Linked DNA regions of Homo sapiens: region 1 is linked to region 2. The links are contacts of gene promoters, found by promoter capture Hi-C in blood cells and fetal thymus (Javierre and others, 2016). All regions are on one chromosome and are shown on one strand. The core of a region is centred on a gene start or on the middle of the fragment in contact, and the rest is flanking DNA. Distances in the headings are between cores, read along the strand shown.

The links. Contacts are between HindIII fragments. The CHiCAGO score rates a contact against its expected background, and 5 or more counts as called.
Region 1: a contact is called between a fragment that was not itself captured here and the fragment with the promoter of LINC02902 in region 2, in 1 of 17 cell types (naive B cells). The highest score is 5.3, in naive B cells.

Annotation. Positions count from the first base shown.
Region 1 is chr7:50,406,379-50,412,090 of GRCh38, forward strand. No RefSeq gene overlaps it. Among named protein-coding and RNA genes, the nearest start is that of FIGNL1, 41 kb to the right of the region's middle. RefSeq lists enhancers at 3,458-3,958, 4,634-4,693, 5,194-5,273. The HindIII fragment of the contact is 2,875 bases long and covers 1,904-4,778 here.
Region 2 is chr7:47,651,003-47,656,838 of GRCh38, forward strand. LINC02902 (long intergenic non-protein coding RNA 2902) reads left to right here and starts at 4,242. Exons shown (of 3, transcript NR_171030.1): 1 at 4,242-4,346. The HindIII fragment of the contact is 4,908 bases long and covers 1,683-5,836 here.

The DNA of each region.
Region 1 (5,712 bases), core at 2,091-4,590, 2.8 Mb after region 2:
GCCTGTTCACCTGGCCCTCCATGGTCCACTAAGATGGAAGGCCATGCCCCAGCTGCCACTGGTCTCCACAGTGACCCTCAGTGTCACACAGTCTCTCTCCCTGGCCCTCCTTCAATGGGAGCCTCCTAAAGGCCTCCTTACCTCCCAAGTCTCCTTAATCCTACCTAGACTTTTGACTTCTCAATAGTGATTGTGTTAAACCAGGAACCTGATCAATCACTGACACTGCCCTGCACACAGATCTCCCCTGGTTTCCTGCTACTCCAAAGCCAAGTGCCATTTCCTCAGCCAGGAGCACAAGGTGGCCCTGCCTTAGAGGTGTCCCTCTGGGCATGTTAAGATGTGCATAAGGCATGGTGATTAGGAATGGGACTCTGGAGCTGCGAAGCCTGGGTGTGAATATCTGCTCTGTACATTAACGCTGTGTGACATGGGACACATGGTCTAACCTCTTTGAGCCCCAGTTTTCTCCTCACTGAAAGCCTGGAGGGTTACAGGAAGGATTAAATCCTCAGTGTCTGTGGACCACTGGACTCAGTGCTGTGGGAGTGGCTGCTCAGCCTTTCCTGCCTCACCTGGCGTTTGTATAGCTCCTTCTAGCCCCCTTATCTCATTCCAGCTGCATGACAGCCAAGTGAGACAGGGACCCATCCACATCCCCCTTAGAGATCAAACAATTGTGTCTGCGAAGCAGCAAACCTCCTTCTCAGCCATCACCATGCTGGGCATGTTCTGGGTGAGCCTGGGGAAGATGATATGTGCCCCATCGTAAAGTGAAAGAACTGCATCTCAGGGCTCCACAGAGCACCCAGAGTCCAGTGCTGCAGAGGCAGGATGGGCCCAGGCCCCTCAAGCCCATTCTTCTCTTGGCTCCTGTTCCATCTCGGCAGTGCTTCCTCCAGGGAGGATGTGGGATTTGATACGTGGGAATGACAGGGTTTGGCAATCCCATAGCTTCTGAATTCCAGGGAGGGGAGGAGAAAGATGCGGGTGAAAACCTGCTTTCAGAGGGTTTTCCCTTGGCTGCCTCCTCAACCAAACTCACCCACAAATTGCATGTCAAGTTTCCCAACCTCCACCTAGGGGAGCAGGCTCTTTCACTTCAGAGAATTCAGAGGCATCTCGAGGGCATATGCCAGGGCAGGCACAGAGTGAGGAGGTGGGGTTGGGGGTTTTTGGACAGCTCTGGTCCCCTCCAGCCCCACAGAGCATGCAATGTGGCTGATGCTGCTGGAGAGCTGGTCTCTGAAAGGAGAATGCATGAATCTGAACTAGAAACAGAAGGGCAGAAGGACCAGGAAAAGAAATGAGAGCCAAACAGAGTCTGAGCAATGAAAGGATGTTTCAGAGAGCTGAAAACACAAGCTAAGCTAAGCATCAGTGGACTGGGAGAGCTCTGAAAAATATCAGGGAGCCTAGAGGTATCTAGTCAAAGATGAGTACAATTACAACCAATAAACTCAAGACCAAGGACAAGAGCAGGGACATTTCCCCCAATTAGACAGTGCCCCCTCTGTGTCCCTGCCCCCAACACACATTGACACATTTGACTTTTGACTCCATTCTGTTCTCTCTGCACTGCATCTTGTCTCTGGCTCTTCTTAATCTTAAGATCCTTCATTGGTTTGTTGAATAACTTGAGCTGCAAAGCAGAGACTGGGAAGTTGGAAATAAAGTAAATCAATATCTTCTTGATAAAAGAGACACTCCTGACATCACATAATGACTTGACCCACTCACATCACATCGCTCCTCAGCCTTCAGTGCCTGGCTATGTGCTGGGATCAAGGCTCACAGCATCACAGGGGTTGGGCGCTGTAACCACCTGCTTGTGCCATGTGTACTCCCTGTCTGTCTCTACAAGTACCATTGTCACCTCCAGTTCTGCAGATGAGGACTTCGAAGCTTGGAAAAGCTGAGTAACCTGCCTGGGGTCACACAGCTGGAAATACTAGGACCAGCACTTGTCCCTGAGCACCTGACTCCTGTGCCTGCACTCTAGAAAGCACAGGGAGAAATGACCCAGCACAAAGGTGATTACAAAACAAGGTGCAATGAAAAGCGCTCTAAAGTGCTGTAAAAGCCCAGTGGAAGGAAACATCACTTCTCACTTGAGGATTACAGAAGGCTTCCTGGAAGAGATCTTGTCTGATCCCAGCTTTTCGGAATGATTGGGATTTTGATGTTGGAAGCAGAGGATTGGGGGTGTAAGAAGGGCATTCAAGACAGAACAAATGTGAATGAAATCTGTTGTATGTCAGAACCAGAAGTCCAACAGCAATAGCCCTGTTTGTCTGGGAAAGAGTACTCAAGGGGAAAAAAATAGGAGATAAATTCAGAAATGTAGACTGAGGATAGGAGGAGTTTGAACAGGTGGATAGGGAGGCATCCAGGAGTCTTAGGAGGTGAGGGGGAGGGGGTGATGCAATGAGAACTCTGGAGACAGTGAAGGGGGCCATGCCATCCAGGCAGAAGAGAGGCTTTACCCACAGCAAGGATGCTGACACTAACCAGCAGAAGTCAGGAGAGGAGAGAAGCAGAGAAGAGAGGACTGGACTCTGCCACTAGAACGCAGGCTCCAAGAGCAGGGATTTTTTGTATTTATTTAATGCCATATCCTCAGTGTCAAAAAGAGTACCTGGAACATATTAGATGCTCAATAAATATTTGTTGCATAACATCTTTTTAAGATAATTAAATCTATTGTGCTTTGACGAGAGGTAAGGAGGTGAAACCCAGTCTCAGAGCCTATATGAGCCATTACTGAGAAAAGGGAAAATGGGCAGAGGATTGGAGGAGGGGAACTTGGCTTTGTGTAAGCATGGGTGGGACAGCCGGGTCCCCATGGATGGCCAATGCATTTGGGAGTCATGAGGCATAGGCTACTATAATGGGAGCTGTGACAGGTACATGTCGCCTCAGGAAAGAGGTGGAGGGTAGGGGATGGTTCTGGGGAGCGTGGGGAGAGGAGAAGCAGGAGGAATTAGGCAAAGGAAATAAGAGGGGCTTTTCCAGATAGGAAAACTCATTGGGGACAGCATCTCAGAATTGTTTTTTTAATTCAAAAGAAGAGGCCCACAAATAGGTTCAACAAAGCCAATGCAATAAGGAAGGGGGCAGAGATGAGACCACTGAGTCAAGTGTTTAGGATGCTGGCAATGACCTTCAAGTGGTGGGTGACAGTGGACTGCAAGGGTGGGCAGAGATGGGCTCTGGAGAGCAGCCGGCAAAGAAGACAGGACCCTGCAATGCAGCCCAGGCCTCATGGAGGCCGATGCTTTGGAAAGGCCAAGTTCTTGGCTGCACTTTTCTAAGGAGAAAGGTAAGAGCCTCATGGGGATACTCCCTTGCTTTTTCTGCTTTTTGACATGGCCAAGACAGGAACAAGGCAGACATCCCTAGAACTCTGTCTCCTGTCCACGTCTGGGATCTGGGCTTCTCAAGGCAGGCTGCATCACCTTCCAGCTCCAGGAGTGGCCCTGCAGGTCCTGGAGCAACAGCCTGGCCCCTGCCCACGCCCCCTCCTCCCTGGCCGCAGGCCCTGGGCCTGGGCTGAGCAGATGGGCCCTGGCAACTCGGTGAATCGGAACTATGGGAAGCAGATGCACCCGCCATGGGTCCCCGGGCACAACTGGAACCTGCTGGGGGAGGGAATTTGCATAATAAGGATAATTTGGTACCAAAACTGTCCCCTGAAGTGAACTGCATGGATCTCGATACAGTTAACAAATTTCACTTCTTCTTTCCCATGTTTTGTCAAACCAACTAGTTGTGACGTTGAGTGTGTGAATTGTCCCAATGTTTCTGTTTCTCTGCCCATGAGTCAGCCCTGGCTTCTCTCTCTGCTTTGCTACCCCCCTGGGCCTGAGGAGGTACCATGCACATGCATATGGGCCTCTCCTGAACAAGGCCACCCTAAGACCTCTCTCTGTGGTTGCGACCACATGTGATCCCAGGTTCCCAGAAGGCCTCAGTGGCTGCGGCCTCCTCTCCGCCACCGTCTCACGGTGCTGTTCCTCCCCAGGCACCTGCGCGAGCTTCCTCATTGTCATTCTCCCTCCAGCTTCCTGTGGGTAGAGGGTGGGCTGGGCCCCACAGTAAGGAGGGTGTGCAGTTTCAGGGTCCCTCAATTTGATTCCCCTTTCAGGGACCTCCTCCCTCTGGGCACTGCCCTGATCCCCACCCTCAGTGGGCACTGCCCCTTGCAAAATCCTCTGTAAATCCCCTCTGCCCACACCCACTTCCCACCTCTGTGAGCACCACGATTCCTTTTTTAAGTTGGTCTCTCATACCACCCCATGGGAGAATGGTTGTGTGTTTTCGTGCACTGATGGGAAATTAAAGCTGACAAGCATGGAGGCAGGGACCCCAAGAGCTGAGGGAAGCTGGTCAGCTGGTCTCCCAGGTCAGATCTCATCTTCAGGAAGGCATCCATCCTCAGTGAGATGTGACCCCAGATGATCCCCCAGCCTCCTCCCAACCTCCAAATCACACCCGATTCCCAGGTTTCCTCGCATCACAGGGCCCTGCTGGTCCTGGGAAGTCTTCCCATGCTTGGCTGCCTGCTGAGTTCTTCTGGGACAAGGCAGAACTTATTGCACCTAATTTTTGGAGCTTTCTCAAGATCTGGTCTCTGAATTCCTCAAGCCCTCATGTCAGCCGTCTTAGGGCTCTCACCCCGCAGTGTATGGGATGTCCACCTCCTCCATTGGACTGTGAGCCTGTGGAGGGCAGAGGCTGGTCTCACACATCCTGAGCCTCCAATAACAACAGAAAGAAGCTTCTGCTGGAGATTCCTTCCCAGAGCCCTGGACTCCCTGAGGTCTTATCTTGCCCCAGTCAATGACGTGGGCCTGAGGCCCATGGCTTTCCCTTTGAAGCTCTGGCCATCTTTCTACTTGCTCCACAGCCAACATCAACTGCCCTCCTCCCCTACTCCCAGAGAAAGGGCCAGACGCAATAGCGTGCTGACCCCTGGGCTTCCTGGGTGCTCCAGGAGGGTACTCTCCTCATCTTAGCATTCAGGCCCTTCTTTTGGACAAAGAACTCCTCCAGGGGACAGGCAGAGCCTCTGGCCCTGAGGTGAATTGGCTGAATCTAGAGAAGGGCTGTGGGGCAGGGAAGGCCGGAAGAGCCCCCTTTGGTCATGGAGGAGTTCAGCTGTGCAGCAGTCGGCGTGGGGGAGAGGGGATTTCCCTCAAGAAAGCTTCTGGGGCTTTTTATTTTCCAATGTAAACATGCTTTTAGTACTATGAATGTGTGTTTGTGTTAATGCTCATTCAAGTGCCGCCCTATATACATAGTTCTGTCCTGTCCCACCAGCATTGACTAGGCCTGACCTTGTCATCCCAGGACCAGGAGCCAGGGTCAGAGACTTGAGAATGTAAGGCCACCACCCTGGAGGAGCTGCGGGTGAAATGGGCAACCGTCAGGCAAGACTGTCCACAGACAAGCTCTGTGCTGCCGACACAGACACCCAGGACCCAAAGGTACACAGGACCCATGGGACCAAGTGCACCTCAGCTGAATCTTGAAAAAGAGAAGGCAGAGAGGGGACAAATTGAATTATACAAAATACTCAAAGCAAAGAAGGCAAGAAGAGTGGAAGACAAACACAAAACAAAACAAAAAGGCCCACACATAGAATAGAGAACAGTTACAAATGTAATCAACATGAATCCAAATGTACCCATAATCTCTTTAAACATCAAT
Region 2 (5,836 bases), core at 2,992-5,491:
TCCTGTGCGGGGTACTCTGGACCTTTCCTCCTCCCTCTGGGCTCCTTAGAAGCGAGGATCAGCCCCTCTGGGCTTATTATCTCAGGCTGCCCCTTCACCCACCCTGTTTGTTGTCTGCTCCTGGGCAGAGACCTTCATTAAGGGCAACAGTGTCAAGGGGTGGCCCAGGCCCTGGAGCCAACCCTGGAAGCATCACTTCTTGCCTGTTGCCCCTATTTTGAGGCTCAGTGGGAATGCCCATGGCCAGCTCCACAGCAAGACAGATGGCTCTGTCACTGGCCTTGAGTAATGGGAGGCTCCTCTCACCCTACTGGGCCAAAATCAAAGGTTTCTACCATCTTTGTGAGGCAGTTTTACATGTATCAATCTCATTTGGACCCTCTCATAAACTCAAGCAGGGCAGGGGCAGGGTAATTAGCCCTCTTTAACAGGATCAGAAACTGAGATTCAGAAAGCCACTCATCCAGTGTCTTGCAGCTCCCAGGGGCTGGGCCACACATCACGCAGCCTTGGTGCCCCTCCTCCTCCCATTGGCCAATTTTACTGGAACCCATGGGTACACGAGGCCTTAGGACACCTCTGCTATTCTTACCAGCCCTGCTAAAATATCCCTAAGGACAGCAGGCTCCAGGATGTGATGTCTAGATGTTTGCAGCTTTTCTCAGGGGAACTCCAGTTGTTATCTAATCATTTCAACACAAAACCTCAAAATAAACCCACATGAATTATGGACTAAATGCCCAACTCACAAGAATTTTGTAAAATAAACGATGAATCATCTAAAATATTTCATGTATGTGTTGGACAAATCTGAATTGTGTACGCAGGTCTATCCTCAGAGCCTTGGTAAGTAGAGATTCTCTAGGGAAAAAGTTTGAGAGCAAACTTAGGCTTGGGAGAAGCAACAGGGTTGAGGCTGAGCGTGGGATTGATGCTGGAGTGTCACTCACTTTTCTGGCCTTGAGGAAGCCGTTTAGAATCCTGAGGCTCAATTTTCTCATTTATAAAATGAGGTAATGGCTGGGCATGGTTGCTCATGCCTGTAACCCCAGCATTTTGGGAGGCCGAGGTGGGCAGATCACCCGAGGTCAAGAGTTCAAGACTAGCCTGGCCAACATGGCAAAAGCCCATTTCTACAAAAATACAAAAATTAGCTGGGCGTGCTGGTACACTTCTGTAATCCCAGATACCCGGAAGGCTGAGGAGGGAGAACACTTGAACCCAGGAGATGGTGGTTGCAGTGAGGCGAGATCATACCACTGCACTCTGGCCTGGGTGATAGAGTGAGACTCCATCTCAAAATAAATAAATAAATACATACATAATAAATAAAATGAGGTAACAAGACTTTTTTCAAAGGGTACTTTTGAAGTTTCTAATTTTTTTTTTTTTTTTTGAGACGGAGTCTCGCCCTGTTGCCCAGGCTGGAGTGCAGTGGTGCGATCTGGAATTACAGGCGTGAGCCACAGCGCCTGGTCTAATTTTTGCATTTTTAGTATAGACGGAGTTTCACCATTTTGGCCAGGCCGGGATCAAACTCCTGACCTCAAGTGATTCGCCTGCTTGGTCTTCCAAAGTGTTAGGATTACAGGCGTGAGCCACCTTGTCTGGCCTGATGCTTCTTTCTTTTTCTAAAAAAGACAGCTTCATACTTTTCTTTCTTGTCCTTTGCTTTGTTGCCAAGCTTGGAGATGATGAAATTGAGACTTAAAATAAGACAGTACGATCACCTTTTCTTGTATGTGGTTTGCAATTGAGTCCTAAGAGGCAGAAGGGGGCCACTCTGGAAATTCCAAGTCCTTGGGAGTGGTTTGTGTTTACAGTTTCACACAAAAATGAACCAGTTCCATGAAGACTCAGAAGGGAGACTCAGAAGGGTGGAGGGAAGAAGAGGGGTGGATGATGAGAAATTGTTTAATAGGTATAATGTACATTATTTGGATGTTGGATACACTAAAATACCTCTACACAATTGATATGGTTCAGCTCTGTGTCCCCACCCAAATCTCATCTGGAACTGTAATCCCCACATGTTGTGTCGAGGGAGGGACCTGGTGGAGGGAGATTGGATCATGGAGGCAGCTTTTCCCATGCTGTTCTAGTGATAGTGAGGGAGTTCTCACAAGATCTGATATGTTTATAAGTGTTGGGCAGTCACTCCTTCACTTGCACTCTCTCCCCTGCTGCCTTCTGAAGAAGGTGACTGCTTCCCCTTCTGCCATGATTGTAAGGTTCATGAGATCTCCCCAACAATGCAGAACTGTGAGTCAATTAAGCCTCTTTCTTTTTTTTAATTACCCAATCTTGTGTGGTATCTTTATAGCAGTGTGAAAACAGACTAATACAACAATATATCTATGTAACAAAGTTACACTTGTACTCCATAAGTTTGTACAAATAAAATGATAAAACTGAACCAGTTCTAAATCAGGTTAAATTGAACAAGAATATCAGGCATAGTCCATGGAAAACAACCCATACTTCTCTCTGATTCCATAATTTATTTTTTATTTCCAACTTCATGCCTCTCAGTCACGCCGGCCATCTCTATCATGTGCCTTGGACCCTCTGGCCTTGGGGCCCGAATGATGGCTTCAGCCCCTCTGGCCAGCAAGTCTGTCTGCTGCCTCTACTGGACACATGTACTGCCTAAAGCTGGGGACTTTCTTATCTGGTCCAGACCCCCAGTTCCTCTAACACACTCATTCCACAAATAGAGCCTCAGGCTCCTCCAGGCCCATGGCTACAGAGCCTTTCCTCTCCTAGAGTTTCTCTCCTTTTAGACTCACAAACTCTCTGCTTACCTGCAAGGTGACAGCCTCACTTGAGGAGGAGGAGCTGAGGTTCACTAGGTGGGAGCTGGCCCAAGTCAGTTTAGCTCAGAGGTCGGAGTCTTTGTAAGATGCAGAATGAAAATGAAGTGTTACGACCTCAACCTCCCTCTCCCATCACCCGCTGGGCAAATGCCAATGTCACATCCTTTAAACTGACTTCCTGCCTCCTAGGTCTCTGCCCTGCCTGGTTTAGATCGAAGTGATTAACCTTCTCCCGGGAGCTCGGGGAGGGAAGTCTGGCTGAGCCCTCTTGCCCTTCAGTTCTGCTGTCCTCCTCTACCCAGGTGGGTATTTGACAAGTTTGTGGATTTCAAGCAAAATGTATCTAAAATACATTGTCTTACAGTATGAACTAGAGGAAACAGTGTTTGAATGTTATCTGTTTCTTTTGGAACCAAATCATTGGGTTGGATGATTTATTAAGAAGTGAATCATCCGGGCCGGTGGCTCACGCATGTAATCCCAGCACTTTGGTAGGCCGAGGTGGGCTGACCACTTGAAGTTACAGGTTCGAGACCAGGCTGGCCAACACAGTGAAACCCTTTCTCTACTAAAAATACCAAAAACTTAGCTGGGTGTCCTGGCACACACCTGTAATCCCAGCTACTCAGGAGGCTGAGACACAAGAATTGCTTGAACCTGGGAGGTGGAGGTTGCAATGAGCCGAGATCACACCACTGTACTCCAGCCTGGGCAACAGAGCGAGACTCCTTTGTCTTGAAAAAAAAAAAAAAAATTAAAGTGTCCCAATCTGGGGGGAGGAACAGGGTCACTGCTATGAGAAAGCTAGAGATGGCCTAGGGTCCTTTCTAAAATTTCCTCTGATATTCCTCACACTTTCAAATGATTTCTCCTTTCTTCCCACTCCAGCCACAGACTGCTAGGAAGTACAGTATTTTTTCTTTTGGAAGAAAAAGTAAATGGGAAGGCACAGGATTTTTATTAATGCTGTTACTGATTTTAAAATAAGCTAAGAATGTGCCGTCAATCCAGTTGGCTGCTCCCTGCCGCCCACGGAGCCTGTAATCACTGCCTTACAGCTCACGAGAACAATGGCAACACAAGCAAACCACATCTGCATTTCCACATTCTGAGCAGCAGGTCCCTGAAATAGAGGCAGGGTACGGGAAATTATAGGACTTCAGTGAAACTGTAGGATTGCTGGGATTCCCACAGGCGCCCAGCCCTGGCTCGGGGAATATTTGAGTGTGGGAACTACCCTAGCATCTCTGCACTTACAGGAGAACCAGGGGATTCACCCGTCATGAGAGCAGAGCTCCTATACCCTGGCATCCTGCGCCCCAGGCACCCGAGGGATCCTGGGAAAACCCAAAGCTATGTGGCTAAAACTCCTGCTTTGGGGCTCAGGGTTCAGGGGGTACGCTAGACTCCTCTCCCCATTCGATTCTTGCATTTGGCAGACGAGTCACCCGGGCAGTGGGATGAGGATGGCACCAACAGAGTCAACAGAAGGAAGACGGCTCTGGCCGGGCCCCAGGGAGGGAGGCAGCGGTCAGGACAGTGGTCTTTGTGGGGCCTGGGAGGTGTGGATGCTGGGAGGGATGTGGGGGTGGTCCTGGATGACTGTTGTTCTTTCTGGACCTGGGAAGTGGTTACATGGGCGTGTCCACTTCATGATAATTTGATTTTTTGTCTTTTTTTAAAATGTTTGCTATCCATCAAAATTTGAAAAAGCTCCCAGGGCTTTGGTAACTCCCTGTGGGGCAGAGAGAGTCCACAGAATGTCAAGGCTGGATTTTCTGCCAGGCTGGAAGGAGGAGGGCTCAGGGTTGTATTTGATTTGTTTAGGAGATGGAAAGAAACTGGCCATGTCTTACACAAGGGAAAATAGTTGTTTTCCCAACATCTGGGGTCTCGAAGGCACTCGAGAAGTGATTACTTTGGGGGGTTTCTGCTTCTCCTGGCAGGCTGAGCTGTTCTGGCTGGGAGGCCTCACTTGTCTCCCCGTCCACACTGCTGGCCCGTGGGGTCTCGCGATGGCTGATGCTGATGTATGGGAAAGCCACGCACCCCAAGAGACTCCATCCTCCCAGTAAGCACTCCATGGAGGAAAGAGAGAGGTGGTAATCAATAAACTTGAGTCATTATTGATATTAGTTGTATTGAACATTTACCACGTGGCAAGCAGGGGTGCCGGGGAAAAAACGACTAAAACCTGGGAGGAAGTTTTTTTTTTTCTTTTGAGACGGAGTCTCGCTCTGTAGCCCAGGCTGGAGTGCAGCGGCGCGATCTCGGCTCACTGCAACCTCCGCCTCCCGGGTTCACACCATTCTCCTGCCTCAGCCTCCCGAGTAGCTGGGACTACAGGTGCCCACCACCACGCCCGGCTAATTTTTTGTATTTTTAGTAGAGATGGGGTTTCATCGTGTTAGCCAGGATGGTCTCGATCTCCTGACCTCATGATCCGCCCGCCTCGGCCTCCCAAAGTGCCGGGATTACAGGCGTGAGCCACCGCGTCCGGCCAAGGAAGGTATTTTTATTGGCCACAATTAACAGATGAAAAAGGCGAAGATCCAGGTGTGTTTGGAACTTGGGCCAGGTTAGGGGGTTACACAGGCTCAAGAACTGCCTTTCACTTGTTTAGATTCAGTCAAGACCAGAACAAAGAGAAACACGGAGATTTCTGTCCAGGAGTGGGCCTTCAGGGACTGCATAGCTTCTCAGTGCTCGACTTGCGTGATGGGATAAGTGCTCTTAGAGCTCACTCACCCCTTCTGTCATGTGAAGACACAGGGAGATGGCATCATCAATGAACGAGAAAGTGGGCCCTCCCCAGACAGCGAATGTCCTGGCACCTTAATCTTGGACTTTCAGCCACTAGAACTGCAAGAAATAAATTTCTGTTGTGTGCGAGCCATCCAGTCCATGGTACTTTGTTACAGCAGCCTGAAGGTACTAGCAAGCCTTAAGAAAAGTATCAGAAAATGGCCGGGCGTGATGGCTCACGCCTGTAATCCCAGGGCCTTGGGAGGCCGAGGCAG